Linked DNA regions of Homo sapiens: all the other regions are linked to region 1. The links are contacts of gene promoters, found by promoter capture Hi-C in blood cells and fetal thymus (Javierre and others, 2016). All regions are on one chromosome and are shown on one strand. Each heading gives the region's core, a stretch centred on a gene start or on the middle of the fragment in contact. The rest is flanking DNA. Distances are from core to core; before and after follow the strand shown. Region 1 holds the start of POMP (proteasome maturation protein). Region 2 holds the start of B3GLCT (beta 3-glucosyltransferase). Region 3 holds the start of HSPH1 (heat shock protein family H (Hsp110) member 1). Region 4 overlaps RNF6 (ring finger protein 6). Region 5 overlaps CDK8 (cyclin dependent kinase 8).

What was found. The method cuts DNA at HindIII sites, captures the fragments that hold promoters and counts their contacts. A CHiCAGO score of 5 or more calls a contact.
Region 2: the fragment with the promoter of B3GLCT here is called in contact with the fragment with the promoter of POMP in region 1 in 2 of 17 cell types (naive CD8 T cells and total CD8 T cells); the score reaches 7.0 in naive CD8 T cells.
Region 3: a fragment that was not itself captured here is called in contact with the fragment with the promoter of POMP in region 1 in 3 of 17 cell types (naive CD8 T cells, naive CD4 T cells and total CD8 T cells); the score reaches 11.6 in naive CD8 T cells.
Region 4: a fragment that was not itself captured here is called in contact with the fragment with the promoter of POMP in region 1 in 1 of 17 cell types (naive CD8 T cells); the score reaches 8.7 in naive CD8 T cells.
Region 5: a contact is called between a fragment that was not itself captured here and the fragment with the promoter of POMP in region 1, in 1 of 17 cell types (total CD8 T cells). The highest score is 5.4, in total CD8 T cells.

What each region holds. Positions count from the first base shown.
Region 1 is chr13:28,657,391-28,660,457 of GRCh38, reverse strand. POMP (proteasome maturation protein) reads right to left here and starts at 1,328. Exons shown (of 6, transcript NM_015932.6): 1 at 1,271-1,328. The coding sequence starts at 1,273. RefSeq lists a silencer at 1,396-1,455 and an enhancer at 1,676-1,835. The HindIII fragment of the contact is 5,788 bases long and covers 1-3,067 here.
Region 2 is chr13:31,198,383-31,201,449 of GRCh38, reverse strand. It overlaps B3GLCT (beta 3-glucosyltransferase), which reads right to left and starts at 1,475. Exons shown (of 15, transcript NM_194318.4): 1 at 1,296-1,475. The coding sequence starts at 1,365. RefSeq lists silencers at 515-764, 825-1,724, 1,775-1,834. The HindIII fragment of the contact is 2,637 bases long and covers 379-3,015 here.
Region 3 is chr13:31,159,112-31,162,178 of GRCh38, reverse strand. It overlaps HSPH1 (heat shock protein family H (Hsp110) member 1), which reads left to right and starts at 275. Exons shown (of 18, transcript NM_006644.4): 1 at 275-703. The coding sequence starts at 597. RefSeq lists enhancers at 149-268, 399-478, 90-635, 636-1,181. The HindIII fragment of the contact is 798 bases long and covers 1,223-2,020 here.
Region 4 is chr13:26,218,293-26,221,359 of GRCh38, reverse strand. RNF6 (ring finger protein 6) reads left to right here. Exons shown (of 5, transcript NM_005977.4): 2 at 30-112; 3 at 1,693-1,903; 4 at 2,754-2,849. The coding sequence starts at 1,711. Among named protein-coding and RNA genes, the nearest start is that of RNF6, 2.5 kb to the left of the region's middle. RefSeq lists an enhancer at 1-274. The HindIII fragment of the contact is 431 bases long and covers 1,122-1,552 here.
Region 5 is chr13:26,254,530-26,257,596 of GRCh38, reverse strand. CDK8 (cyclin dependent kinase 8) reads right to left here. Exons shown (of 13, transcript NM_001260.3): 1 at 2,828-3,067. The coding sequence starts at 2,955. Among named protein-coding and RNA genes, the nearest start is that of CDK8, 1.9 kb to the right of the region's middle. RefSeq lists a silencer at 2,864-3,067. The HindIII fragment of the contact is 607 bases long and covers 1,257-1,863 here.

The DNA of each region.
Region 1 (3,067 bases), core at 79-2,578:
AAATGTGCTCAGAACACTTACACTAGCCTACAGTCGGCCAAAATCATCTAATACAAAGCCTACTTTATTAAAAAGTACTGGGTATCTCATGTAATTTATTGAATACTGTACTGAAAGTGAAAAACAGAATGGCTGTATTGGTACTCAAATATGGCCTCTACTGACTGTGTATGGATTTCACACCATCATAAAGTCAGAAGATTGTTGAACCACCAGAAGTTGGGGACCTTCAGCAGAGATGTGTGATTGTTGCTTTCCAAATGTATCTTCTATTACTTCCCTATATGAACATTCTCCTCCTTCTGGACTGCTTTATTGTAAAGTAACAAGGTTTCAACGCACAAAGAAAAGGTGAATTCTGACTTCTGGATTCTGTTATTGTCATTTTTCCCAATTTCCTTCTGTAAAATATCAAGATTAGTACTTGCTGTTTCTAATAAAGGAAGGAGCCGAGAAAGGCAAATCTACGAAAACCTAACTACTAGTTACATTTGAGAGTGCCTAAAAAACTTTTTAGATAACGATTAGCAGTATTTACCAATAGAAACTTTCTAGATTTGGATGGATGGCCTACCAGCAGTACCGATATCAGAGTCTGTGGCAATGGTGACTCAGTGTTCTTCTCAAATACCACAACTTCTAAGTTAAAAAGAAAGAGAAAGTGGTGGGGAGGAGAAGGAGGGAGGAGATATACTAACAATACTGGCAAACAGGGAATAGCAACTGTCTGATTTTTTCCCCTCTAACATCTAGCACACTACAAGCTCTCAAAAAAGTTTGTAGAGCAAAGCTGCGTTACACAAATGCGACCTATAGTTGTGGGCTGTTTACTAGGCAGTTACAAGGGCGGGGGCTGGGGGAGATGAGGAGTCTGAGAGCTCTGGGCTCCCAGAGGTTACCCGTCAAGGAAAGGGTCGCCAGCGCCACCCCACAGAACGTTGCACTTTCACGGCTGCCTTTTCCACTTCTGCGCCAAGTAAGGGGAGGAGGTCTGGGCCTGCTGGGGTCTAAGGGATGGAAGGGCGCAAACCGAGCTAAGAGGAGCAGGATGAAGCCGAAGCACTGCTAGTGGGACTAGTGCCGGGCCCCGGCGACAGTCACGACCCACCCAAACCCCGTGACTCGACAGATTATGGCGCCTGAGGCCGGCCTCAGCCCCACGCTGCCGCCGCCGCCGCCACCGGGGACGGGTTGGGAGGCGACTGCCTGTTTCTGCCGAGCCACGGTCCCGAGCCCGCGTGGAACTCCAGCCGCCCGGGTACCCACTCACCATCTTCCGCAGCTCTGCGAACAGCCTCTCTGCCCCGTTACCGTCAGTCGACCCCGCCGCTCACTTCCGTTTCCGAGGGCTGGCCCCCACATCCGCCGGAAGTGCGTCCGTCCTGGCGAGGAAGGAAGGAGGGCGCGGGACGCCGGAGGGAGCTGCGCGGGGCCGAGGCTCCCACGCTTGCAATCCCAAGGGACCCAGGGCCAAGGGCGCAGTAAGGGTGTGGGCTGGGAGGAGGGAGGGGTCGGGACGAGACGTGCCTGAGGGGAGGGAAGACACGGACTCCGGTTTATTAATAAACATCTACGGTTTGTACGGCATTTTAAGATGTGCAGTGTGCTTTTGTAGGTACATCGCCTTATTTAACACAAAACCTCTCTGAGGTAGCTATTACATTTCACAGAAGGGTAAACGAGGCGTAGGTGGTTTGAGTGATTTGCTTGAGATCGTTCGGCTAATAAAGCAAAATTGGGACACAAGGCTTTTGTCATTTTTAAAAAACATAATATTGAAGGCCTGGTATGTTCCGAACCCTGTGCTGAGGCTAGGAATACAAAAAAGGACCAGGCCGGTGTGGCCTCTGGGCTAGAGGAGCAGGGGTACTCCGGAGGCTAGAGGGGAGAGAGGGGACGATAGTGACTACAAATTAAGTAAATGTGATCATGACCGACATATGTTGGGCCCTTTGAATTGCGTTATCAACACAGTTCTAAGTGCTTACATCCTTTATCTCTTTTAATCTTTTCAATAACCTTACAAGTACAATTTACAGGTGAAGAAACCGAGACATGAAGGGCTTAAATAAATATGCCTAAGGACATATTTATGAGTCTAGAATCCATGCTCATTACACTATTCTGTATTGTTCAAATATAATGTAATAAAACGGCCTTATAGTCTGCTGCCACAGGATGGAGACATCTTAGGGAATCTTTGGACTGACAGCTAAAAGATAAGAGCGAACTAGTTTGGGGTAGTAGGATATTTAAAACAACATTACGTGCAGATCTGCTTGTGCAAAAACGGAACTGGAAAGAAGGCCTAAGTCTGGCTAAAGTTCAGAAAGTAAAGTGGAGAGTACTGTGAGATGAGGTTGTAAGTAGATGGAGGCAAGTGGTTTTTGTTGTTGTTTTTGTTTGTTTGTTCTAAATAATGATAGGGTTTAGCTATGTTGCCCAGGTCTGCGTTGAACTCCTGGGCTCAAGCGATTCTCCTGCTGCAGCCGGCTGAGTAATGGGAACTACAGGCGTGCATCATGGGACCTAGCTACAGGTTTTTTATGCAGCCTTTGTAGGCAAGATTAAGGATGAGGCTTTGTCTTTAAAAAGCCATCGAAGGATTTGAGAGAGGAAAATGATAAGGCCATATATGTTATGTATATCCACTGCCATGGTCATACAACTTTGAAGTTCCAGATGTTATGTGTTCTGCCATGCTGTCCTTTAGGTGTCTTCTGGTCCTTCACAATAGCCATGTTTAATCCTGAGATTTGAGTTGGAGTGTTTCGTTTGCATCTTTTTTTCTTTCCGTCAATTCCACCTGAGAAATTGTAAAACTGCGAATCTTTTCTTAAAAATCATTTTAACATTTGCTGATTGCTCACAGTTCAATGAATATGTATTGAACATTTGCTTGGTACTAGATTCTGGAGCTATAAAGAAGAAAAGAGCAATTCCCTGTACCTGAGATGCTTATATATTTTCCTGGGGAAATAGACATGCAAACAGATATTTAAAATGCAGCATGGGCTGGGTGCAGTGGCTCACACCTGTAATCCTAGCACTTTGGGAGCTGGAAGCA
Region 2 (3,067 bases), core at 226-2,725, 2.5 Mb before region 1:
ACCAACTACAGCCTTCTCTGCCGGAGGTGCCCTAATATTTTTAATTACACTGCTGCCTAATTAATCATGCATGTAAACAATTACCAACTAATCTTGCTCTTTTCCCACACTTACTGAGCGCCTATAGAAATGCCAGAAGTACACAAATGCAGCAAATTAATCCTTATTCAGAGAGCTTAAATACAAATAAAAACAGGCTGTCAAGGTTCCGGTGGGCTAACAAGAGCAGTGCGCAATAACGCTACGTCTTTTCCTAAACTGCACCATTCTGCCATTACTAAAAAATCTGAAATCATTGCCTTTTCACACCAGCAAGTCTGGGTTAGAGGACAAAAACTCTGTAGCAGTCTGAAAAAAAAATAATTTTTCGCTCAAGCTTTCAAAGTTGAACAAATCTGATCATGAAAGTCAATTACAAGGCTGCTTTTTTTTTTTTTTTAACTTTTATCACATCGTTTTAAGATAAAGGGGGGAAATGCCCTTGCGAGGAGAAAAGAAATAAAAAAGAATGGGCATTACAGCAGCAGGAGACCGGGCAAGCACTGCTCTGCTCGCAGACGTGTCCCCTGATGTCCCCAGCGGAGACCCGAGACAGGAGCAAGCCTCCCCGCCGCGCCAGCTCCCGCGGAGGCCCAGCGGGCGCCCCTGTCCTCCTCCGGGTCGGAATCCGGGAAGGGCTGGCGCCGAGCTGGCCGCTTATCCTCAGGGGCCAGGGCACGTCCCGAAGGCCCTGCGGAGGGGCGCGCGGACACCGGGACCGCAGTCCTCGCCCCCGGGGGTCGAACAGGAGCCGCGGGGCCTCGAGGGCCGCCTCGCCGGCTCCCGTCCAGCCTCCCGCCCGGCGCGGGGCGCGCAGGACGGCGGAGCGCGGGCGGAAGGCAGGGGGGCGGGACCGCCGCCGCCGCCACTCGCGCTGTTGCAAAGTTTCTTCGGTGGCACAGTTCCTGCGCGCTTCCTGTGGGGGCGGCTGCTGCGCCCTCGCCGCCCCGTCGCCCGCCGGTTCGGGGCGGCAGAGGCTGGGAGACGCGAGTCTGGGGCCGGGGCGGCAGCGGGGACCCAAGACCGAAAGGGGCCGAGCGGGCACGCCTCGGGTCCCGGGCCCGGGTCCCACCTGGGCGCCGCGAGAGGGCGCTGCTGACGGCGCGGCGCGGCGGGGACCGGACGGCGGGACGCGCGCGCCGGCGGGGCAGGGCTGGGCCGCCCTGCGCCTCCCTCCCCGCGCCGACCGGGGCACGGGCGACTGTGCCCGCGAACCCCACGCCTCGCCCTTGCGCGCCTGGCCGCCCGCTACTTACCCAGGGAGCAGGTGAGGAGCGCGAGCAGCGCCGGCGGCGCGAGCAGCCACCAGCAGGCGGGCGGCCGCATCCTGGCGGCGGAGGCTGAGCGCCCTACCTGGGCGCGGGGAAGGGAGACGCGCGGGGAGCGGAGCTGCGCCGCTGCCGCCGCCGCCCTGCCGCCGCGGCTGACCCTTCTCTGCCGGCTCCCCTCCTCCCTCCGTCTCCGCCGCGCCATCGCCGGCCGCGCCCTCTGGCGGCCGGGAGCGGGAGCACCCCTGTGCGCGCTTCCAGCGTCTGCCGGGCTGGCGGCTGCGGCTGGTGTCCGGCCCGACGGGCTGCTGCGGTAGAGGTGGCCGCGGCTCTGCCCTCACGGCGCCCTCCTTCGAGGCGTCTGACCTCTGCCCCCTCCAGCCACCAGCCTCCACCCCTCCTCTTCCTTTCTCCTCTGCGTCCCTCCTGACCTAGGCCGCGTCCCCTGCCTTCATGCCCTCCCACCTTACCGCGTCACCCCCATCAGTAGTTCTACCTGTGAAGTGGAAGCGAGCAGTAATCACTTTTCCTCCCTGCTAATGTATTATCTGCTGTGGAAAAAAAAATGTAATCAATAGTTCAACTCTTAATATTGTTGGCACCAATGCTCTACTTTGATGAAGGTGTTTTTAATCAGCTCAACTAATTTACTTAATATCCCCTTTAAATGGAATTTGGCCAATAGCCTAGGTCTGGGATTTGGCTTTTAAACAAGTTTGTGTAAATGTAATTTTCTATAAATGTAATTTTAAGTGTTCACCATAATGGAAGAGAGTGGGTGTAATTTTATTCAAAATATAAAAATTAATTAAACTGGAATACAGAGAAGTGGAGCAATGTGGGAGTGCCTCCTGTTCCCGCAGGACTGCGAAGGGCTTTCCTCCCCAGCCCGGTAGAGTGGTGGCCCTGATAGGGGACTGGTCCTGTTGTGTTGTGTGGTGCACTGAAGGGGAAAGCATTACAAGTAAGAACTAGAGGCTCCCTTCAGTGGTTCTGAACTCCTTCGTGCCTCCCTCAAGCCTTGGCTCACTTCTGTTTCCAAGGAAGTGCACAGGACCAAGTGCTTTTCCCAGCCCTAGTTTAGCCCATGACCTCTTGAAGGCAGTTTCTATGTTTTCCTTCATATTTACTCATTTGTTGGATACCTACTATGTGACTGCAACTCTGCTAAGCACCCTAGGAATGCCAGTATCTTTCACATGGACATACAACATTCACCTACTTGCTAAACATTTAAGGAGGAGGAGGCCCTGGGAGTACAAGTAGGATGGCCCTGGGAATACAAGTAGGATGTCCTGGAGACAGAGAAGCAGGTGCTGAATAAACATTTGTAGGCTTGAGCCCTCTTAACTTGAATGCGTTTAGGGGACTTAGGCTCTAATGCATTAGGACAGTATTGTCTGCAATTGTGCAATACCTGCTGGGATTGTTTTGAAAAGGAGGCCTGGAGACAAAGAATTTTCTCTCTGTGTGGTTTATATTGACTTCTTAAAACTGGGAACTAAATATTTCACGTGTGATCCATTTAGTGTGAGTGCAAATAGTTCCCTTTTGTTCCATTCGCCCAAGGTTTATGGTCTCTTGTCAATACCATTTTGATGGGAGGAAAAAGAAATGTAGGGATCCTTCCATTTCATTTCTTAGTGAAGCATTTCAAATCTATGGTTGACTGAATTCATTGCTTTTATCCTTGGGAAATTCTCAAGCTTACCTGCCTAGTAGTTCTAGATTGTTTCCAATTTCCAAAGCTGTTTTCGCTT
Region 3 (3,067 bases), core at 372-2,871, 2.5 Mb before region 1:
AGGGCAGCAAAACGCCTGTGGCTAGGGCGGGAGTGGGCGGAGGCAGGTTTGAGCCAATGGCACGGGAGCGGCCCTGTCGCTGCCATGGCAACGGCGGCCGTTCTCCGGGGACCGGCTGCCCATTGGGTAGAATCTTTCCAGAAGGCTCGAGAAGAAGGAAGCGGAAGTGGCACGTGGAGGGGCCGGTGGAGGCGCCGGTGAGTAAATGCCGCAGATTCTGGAAAGTTCTGATCAGTGCGATACATAAGGCTGAGGAAGTGGGACCTCCCCTTTTGGGTCGGTAGTTCAGCGCCGGCGCCGGTGTGCGAGCCGCGGCAGAGTGAGGCAGGCAACCCGAGGTGCGGAGCGACCTGCGGAGGCTGAGCCCCGCTTTCTCCCAGGGTTTCTTATCAGCCAGCCGCCGCTGTCCCCGGGGGAGTAGGAGGCTCCTGACAGGCCGCGGCTGTCTGTGTGTCCTTCTGAGTGTCAGAGGAACGGCCAGACCCCGCGGGCCGGAGCAGAACGCGGCCAGGGCAGAAAGCGGCGGCAGGAGAAGCAGGCAGGGGGCCGGAGGACGCAGACCGAGACCCGAGGCGGAGGCGGACCGCGAGCCGGCCATGTCGGTGGTGGGGTTGGACGTGGGCTCGCAGAGCTGCTACATCGCGGTAGCCCGGGCCGGGGGCATCGAGACCATCGCCAATGAGTTCAGCGACCGGTGCACCCCGTAAGTGGGAGTCTGCGAGGGTGGATGGGAGGAGGTTCTGGGCCCTTAGTGTGGGGACCCAAGATCGCGGGCTGGCTGTACGGATCACCGCGGCAAACGGAGGCGTTTGGGCAGCGGCGCACCCCTCCGTGGAACTAGGGACCAGCGACCCGGCCAGAGGAGGGATGGGGGGCTTGCCATCACAAATTGGAGAAGGGATTGTCTCAGGGATTCACGGGGGTGAGAGGAGTCCCAGAGTCGAGACTCTAAGGGTCGTCACCTTGTGCGGGCTTCCTATTGGGGGTTTTCAAAACCTACTGGGGGTCGGGCTGCGGCAAAGCCCGCAACTTCGCTCCCTTTTCTTGGCAGGCTGCAGCCTGCGCCTTCCGCGGCCGCCCCCGTATCCCCACCCGGCCTCTCTGAGCTGGCTGAGCCGCCTCCAGCTTGTCCTCCTCCCTTCGCGCATATCTTTGCGCACCGCGGAGCGGGGCTGCCGGCCTTTTTCTTCCGCATTGTGAATCTCGAAATGAACTGGAAGCTTCCAGAGCTTGTGTCGCTGCTTGTCCAGTGAGCAGGCGGATTGTTGTTAGCGACCACGGAAGCAGTCCTATGAAAGATTAGCCCACCTCTTTTTACCCAGTCTCTTCGTTGCTAACATTGTTGGCCTTAATGCCCGGGATCATTGTCGAAAGATGTAAACGTCTTTTTTTTTGCTCTTTGCCATTCATGAGGAATTGTAAACCGTATTTTTAAAATTAATTTTGCACAGTTTATTTAAAAGAGAATAAAAATTGCATACTTTTGTGCTAGGACGCCAAAAGAGGATGGATGTCGTCACTGAACTAAATATTCTATAGGAGCATAGGGTGGGCAAAGGGCAACATTTTAAAAAGCAAGTTTCGTGAAGGGATATTTTCGGACGAGAATATATACAAACATATCTGCATGTGCATTGATGAAAACAAATGATTTCATCTCAAGGAAAATACTGTACCTATTAATTTTTTTCAAATGTCCCAAGCTCAGGATGAAAAGTGCAAAATGAAAACATTGAACCTAAAGGTAGAATGAATGACTGGGGTAATACAATTATTTGGGTGCTGAGAACGTTTATGAAAGTTGAGTGGAAAATCTGAGGCAAAATATTTGGCAATGTTAGTAACGTTAGGAAGACTGTTCTGAGCAACCTGTACGTCTACCCCTGCAGATCTAAGTTTGTGTTTTGGTTAAGGTTTTTTTAATTGGAGTTTAGTAAGAAAGAAAACAGTATTTCAGGCTTTCATGCCTAGATACAGTTTATACTTTGTTCTGGTTGATCCAATAAAACAAAGAAAAGCTTTTCAGAGAAGAGAGTGGGAAAAAAAATTGTGTTATACAGGGACTACTGTGTGAAATCAAAGACAACAGGTATGGCCCTGAAAAATGTGAACTGAGGGCAGTATTGGAGTTCCCCTTAATATGTTTGTTAAACTATAATTGTGGTGGATTCTATTGTATCAGCTACTAATTGTTATTTAGTACAATTAATTTGATTCTCCCCTAGGAAAATGAGTAGATCCATTCTGCAAGTGTATGGTTATTCAGAGCTTACAGTGATGCTCTGATTTTGACGGTTTCTTGTCTAGCTTCTGCTTGGACACTTCTCTGGCTTTTAGGATGCTATTTTATTTAACACTTGCTCAGATAATATAGTTTGAGGATGTTTCTATTATAGCAAATTTAAACTTAAGGGTGGTACTTAATGCCCTCAGTATTTTCCCGTTTTGCTCATCTCGTTTACCATTACTCATACCTAAGCAGGTAGGAGTAACTCACCCAAAATTAGATTATATTTGAATTAGTAATCCAGAATTAGATAACTCCTCTAATCCAAAACCTAATTCACTTACCTTCTTCTCACAAGACTTTTTAAGCTAGTCTCTGCTCTGTTATTGTGCGGTTCCATTTCCATGGTGGCTGAGAAGGTTGTTTCACAGTTGTAAGTCACTTTCCATCTCTTCAAAACAGATTTGATGTAACTGATTAGTCACTCCTTTCCCTCGACATTTATATTCTGTTTTGCCATGGTACTTGTTGTGCATCATTTTTTTCTTTCTCCGGCAGAATCTCCCAGATGGGAACCTCTTTGTGCTCTTTAAACTTCAGAGGTGTAACTTGGGTTCATTTGCTTGCGTTTGCATAAAAACTTTTGATTCCTAAAGAAGCCGGTGGTATATCAGAACAAAAGTCGGTATGACAATGACATTTAGATTTGTACAGAGTTGGTGACTGAAAGGTAGAGTCACATCCTATTTTTTGTTAGTCGTGTGTAGGGTCAAATTAATAATACCGTTAACATATTTAAAACATTTTCAAAGTTAATGTTCGGTTCATAATAACTGGAAC
Region 4 (3,067 bases), core at 88-2,587, 2.4 Mb after region 1:
AATTATTCAACTCTCTTTTATTGCTTCAGATGGGCAGCTCTCAAAAAAGGCACAAACAATTGAAGGATGGATACCATGGCATATGTTAAAAGCGTGTTGAAAGGAAAATAAGGTATTCGCTTTGTTTTCATTGTGATTAACTGTATAAGAAAATTACCTTTAAGGAGAAGCTCAAGTTTTAAATAATATTAGGGTAACTTGATTTTATGATAGGCTTCAACTTGTAAAATTATTTATTACAAAAATCCTATTATTGCTGTACCTACGAAATATGCTCTTTGCTAATTATGGTCTTAATCTGAAGATAGAGATCTTGAGTTTTTAGTAGTGTTAATTCATATTTGAGTGGATAATGTTACTAGGTCATTTGTTCAAAATGACATAATAAAATAACCACAGTGAAAAAAATCCTTGAATTTGTAATTTAGTGTTACAGGTGAAATTGAATAGTTGCTTACTCCAACAGTATTTTAGACTTGTAGGCTAATTTCACCTTATATTTAAAGCAGCTTGCTTATTAAATACCTAGTGTATTTCGAGAGGCAGAGTTGCACAGTTGCTTCACTGGTAGCCTAGCCATTTGAGCCTCCAGCCTCTACTGAGTCAGGTGCTGTATTACTCATACCCTTTAGTGACATGCCAGAAATTGTCGAGGAATAGTTTATTTCATCTGCAGAACACCCAAATTAGCTCTTAACAGCAGACCTGGTCCTACCCTGGAAAACTCTAATCAAGGATTGGGGATGAGATTTGGGCATCTAGATTTTTAAAAATACCCTTAAGTGAGTTTGAGAACCATTGCTTTAGTGTGACTTACTGAATAGATGTATTTAAGAAATTCTAAAATATTTGTGAAACAAACATCTTTCTCTCTTGATTTCCATGTAATTTAAAAGTGAGCTTCTCAGGAGTGACACTTAAATATAATCCAAAAATAGTGGTTTCTTAGGCAAAGTCAGGAAGTTTCACTGGCATTCTGAAACTCCTGGGACTAACCATTCCAGGCTTAAGGATGAGGCTTGATATGGGGTGATACAAAGTGCTCTGATGCACTTTCACAATCCTTGAGCCATACATGATGTCTTGTTTCCTGTTGGGTTTCAAAGTCTTCCTGGTAAGCTTTAATAAGAGACCACCTTCCAGTTTGTTCAGTAGATATTAATTAGGCTAAATGATTTTCACCTCATCAAAGTGCAGTGGGGGATAATATTACATTCATGAGCCTTATTTTGGAAAGAATACCTTGCTGAAAACAAATGTAAATTATATCATCCCAGTATCCCTTTGCTCATTAAGTGAAGAATGTGCATAATTCAAGCCTAAAATTTGTAATTAATGTGAAGTACCCAGATCCTGAAACATAAATGAGGACTTCTGGATCAACTTTTCCAGATCGTCAACATGGTCAAAAATGAGATAATCACTATGGTATTCAGGCATGAGCATTGTGTGGTAAACCCAAATCCAGTCTGACTTAATGGCTTTAGGCAAAGAAGTAAGTGCCAATTGTGTTGTATTTCCTAGAAGCTGTTTTTCATTTTATATGTAAGCTTCTCACTGCAAGATTTGGCAAATACAGTATTTGGGTAGGGGACAACATTTAAAAATTAAGAAAAACTGCAAGTTAAAAATACAAAGCCAAATGTGGTCCATGACTTAACACCTTGAATGTTGTTTATATTGTTTGAACAGAAAGCCAGGAATCTCAGGATGAATCAGTCTAGATCGAGATCAGATGGTGGCAGTGAAGAAACCTTACCTCAAGACCATAATCATCATGAAAATGAGAGAAGATGGCAGCAAGAGCGTCTCCACAGAGAAGAGGCCTATTATCAGTTTATTAATGAACTCAATGATGAAGATTATCGGCTTATGAGAGACCATAATCTTTTAGGCACCCCTGGTAAGAGATGGGTAAAAGAGGAAACACCCTTTTTTCATCATTTAGATGGAAGGATTTCAAGATAAGGAGAATTGGTATTCTTTTTCCTTGCTTCTCTTTATGAAAATATAGTATATTGTTTTTGTGAGTTTAAGAACTTTTTAGTATAATAAAGTAGAAAATCACTGGCTTCTGTATTTTATAAGGTGAAAATAGGGGACATGGAGCACTATTATACAAATGCCAAACTAAGAAACAGGTTAATGTACATAATGGTGTTAAGTATTTACATATATGGTCCTATTTGTAATTTTTATACAAATAAAATATGACTTAAAACCCAATTTGAACTCATTTGGGGTATTATAATTTATTTATTCAGCTGAATTAATAGCTCCCCCCAAAGCCCAATGTGTTCCATAAAGTTTTTACAAATGAACTAATGGAAATTTGTATGTTTATATATTGTGTGTTTGTATATTGATGACCCATATAATGAAGTATTTGGGATAAAATTCAAGTAAATATTTGAAGTTTTCTCTATAAATGCTCCCTTAATTTCTTTTTAACTGACAAAAATCCACAGTTATAGCTTATAGATTCCTAAGTGTATCAACTGGCAGCACTTTACCAACTATTCAAATTAAATCTTATTTTAATAATTTTTAATAAAAGATTAATAAATGAAGCACAACCGAATTGATGCACATTTGTACCAGTTGAATATTTTTAACTGTCTTCAATTTACAGAACATATGAAAGTAATAAGACATTTGTCTTCTATAGGTTACTAAAGATTAGTCTTACCCTTCATGAGGTCTCATAAAACTTAATTCAGAATTCTTAAATGAGCAGTTTTTCATTGTTTTAGGAGAAATAACATCAGAAGAACTGCAACAGCGGTTAGATGGCGTCAAGGAACAACTAGCATCTCAGCCTGACTTGAGAGATGGAACGAATTACAGAGGTACTATGGAGTCCTTTCCATAAGGAACAGGCTTGATTGGAGCACTTGCAGAAATGAAATTCTTAGACCTTGTATAGTATGTTTGTCTTCAATTTTTTCCAGTTTTAATGTGATACTCATTCAGATAATATATATATGAGTAGTAAAGCAGTATGGTTAAGCAGTATAGGACAGAGGAATGAATGCAAAGATGTCTTAAACACACAGATTGCCTTCAG
Region 5 (3,067 bases), core at 311-2,810, 2.4 Mb after region 1:
GCTTCCCACTGAGTACTCTTTAAGTGTTCAGACACAAAGGACACTATCTCATTTACGGCGACACGAGTGAGAACAAATTAATCCCAAGATTTATTGTGCATTTCTTTAAACTCTATTATAATGTGAAATTAACAAAGTTATAAAAGGTCCCTTTTCCCTACTATGCAATCATGCCTCAAGTAAGTCAAAGAAATGAATCTTTGAAGCTATTTTATTTCCTAAAACTTAATAATTTAAGCAGCTAACTTCTCTGGTCTAAATTATTTTACCAATTATTCATGTTCTATGCTCACTGGGCAACTGAAAGGATACAACGTTTACATACATTCATTTCAATAGTCAAATATGTCTAAACCAAGCTTATTTGCGTTACTTCCTTTTATAGAAAATCTCAGGTTCTCCTTAAAGGTGTTACTGTCTGAGTTCCTAGAGAACAAATCTCAGCTGCAGAATATATAATGTAATTTGAAAGTAAATCAATACTAGAAACAAATTATTTGATCATCATCTTATTATGAAAGATTAAACAGCCACAAATTTTATTTTACCAGGACTAAAATGCATTAAATTACATTTCACTGACATAAGATCAAAAGAACCTCATAAATACTATGCGATACTTTACCAGAGTGAGGTTACAAAGAGAAGTCAAACCGAAAAAAATCCCTGTAATTTTAAAACTCTCTAAAACTATCTCTAAAAGATAGTAATTTTAAAACTCTCTTGACATTTGATCCATTAAAAATAGAAGTTCATCACATAAAGAGAATCATTAAAGACTGATGGAAAACAAACTCCAAGGATTACAAATAATAAGTTCTTTTTTCCAAAATGCAATGTTACTTTTCAGCTGTCACAGATGACTAAGAATGTCCATACATTATACCTTCAACTATCTTTAAATTCAAAGATATTGAAATTATTCTTTCAAATTATTCTTAACGGCCTAAATTAAAACCTGACCATAGAGATATAAAATGTGCTTAAGTACCCCCTGCCAATACACAGTATTAGTTTTCTAATAAAATGTACAACGTTAAAACAAATATGCATATTTTATTAGCTTAAATTGGTAATTTATGAAAACAGAACCGGCTTCTCTCACACAGATTAAAAATAATGCAAAGGCGCTAGAATTTTATATAACATGTCAGTTTGGTCAAATGTACTGTAATGTCTAATCTCATGGGATTGGGGATTTTATGAATATGCCCAAAATTACATAATACTGGGGGAAGGGGAGATGGTTTAAAGCTTTTGAGAAATATTGTATGGTGAGTTAACAAACATAATTTTAAAAATATATGTCATTACAGAGTAAAACTTCAACAATAAGTCTAATTAGACAACAACAGAGTCAGCAATATCTCCAGACGCTGATTTCTCCAGTGTCACCAGACTATCCATTCCGCTAAAAAGTACTTTTAAATACGTGCGGCGCCCAGAATATCAAGTTTTCAAATCCAAATCCCTACCTTCTGCCGATCTGTTCCACTTTACTGTTGCATAAAAGCACTAAAATACACATTCTAAATTAATTAGAACTCCTATCTTCCTCGTAGAGTCCATTGTAAATACTTTTAGAAAGACATTTCAGTAAATCTAAGAAAAATGTCCAATAAATATACACTTTCCTTTCCAACATCCAGAATACTAAAGTATTTGTAAATATGCGCCCCCCTACCCCACAGTAGGGAACTTCAGCTTTATGAATTTTTTTTTCGTGCTAATGTAGTCTGAACATACTCTCCTACCTAATTGGAAATTTTAAGTGATTAAACATCATACAGCAGGTGACTAAACTGGGATGCTCAAGTAAAGCTACTTCGTTTCTAATAAAATCCAAGGATTATATAATAAGCTTTGACTTTTCAATAATTTTCTATTCTGTCAAAGGCAACAGAGACAACATCCATTTTACAAGAAAACATGGAGTTAATAAAATATATTTTCCCCCCAACTAAGAATTGCCTTCTCTTTTGTCAATATTACAAGACATTCATCTACTGACAAAGAGAAAAAATGAACAATTCACTTGCCTGTTAAGAAACTAAATTGGAAGCATTACCAGTCATAGGTTTAATTAAGTTGTTACTAGGGAAGAATATTTAAAGCAAAGGGATTATTTAAAGTTCACTGCCAGCCGCTAAATTTGGGGGAAACCGCCTGAACGAGATAGTCCCTATGTCACTTGCCTTCTTCCCCACCACCCACCCTGCACCAAACCCCCATTGTTCTATGTAAAAATTCACAGCTAATAATATCTAAATAGCAATTGCAACATTTATGTTGCAGATGATCACTATGGGGAACTCTCTCCAGAACCACATTCACTCGCTGCCTTCCTTTCCTCAAATAAAATACAAATTTGATAAAAAATCGATCACAAACTGGTGGGGGAAAGGATCACAGCCTTCCTTCTAGACCGATGGATGACACTCCAGAGGCGGGTGAGGAAATCCCCAGAAGGTTACCATAATAAATCGACCAAGGAAAAAAAAAAACAAAAAACATTTAACCCGGCGTTTTAGAACGAATTTTTTCATGAATCAGCTTTGAAATCCTTGAAAAGTATACAGCCCACGGTGCAGAGGCTCATCTTGCCTCTTACCACCAGAGCAGAACACAGACGCGGCACGCAGGATTTCTCGTGGGTTTGGATCCCTCGTACACCACTTCCTCCCCAAACCTGGCTGGCGGAGCCAGAGGCCGGCGTCGAGGAAGTCAGAGCCCGGCACCCCGGCGGCCCGCTCTCCCTCCGGGCTACCTGCCTCGGCCTGCGGGAGCGCCGCCCAGCGCGGACACCGGCCCAGACACACACACTCACCCATCTTTCCTCTTGGCTTTGTAGACGTGACCATAAGTGCCTCGGCCAACTTTGCAGCCCTCGTATTCAAACAGGTCCTCGACCCGCTCCCGCTCGCTGCTCAGCTTCACTTTAAAGTCATAGTCCATTGTCACAGCCTCTGAGGCCGGAGAGCTGGGTCGGGGGGCCGGGGGGCAGGGGTGGGGACCGGGGAAGCACGGGCAGCCGCAGCCCCCGGGAACCCGCCCGCTCTACGCCCGC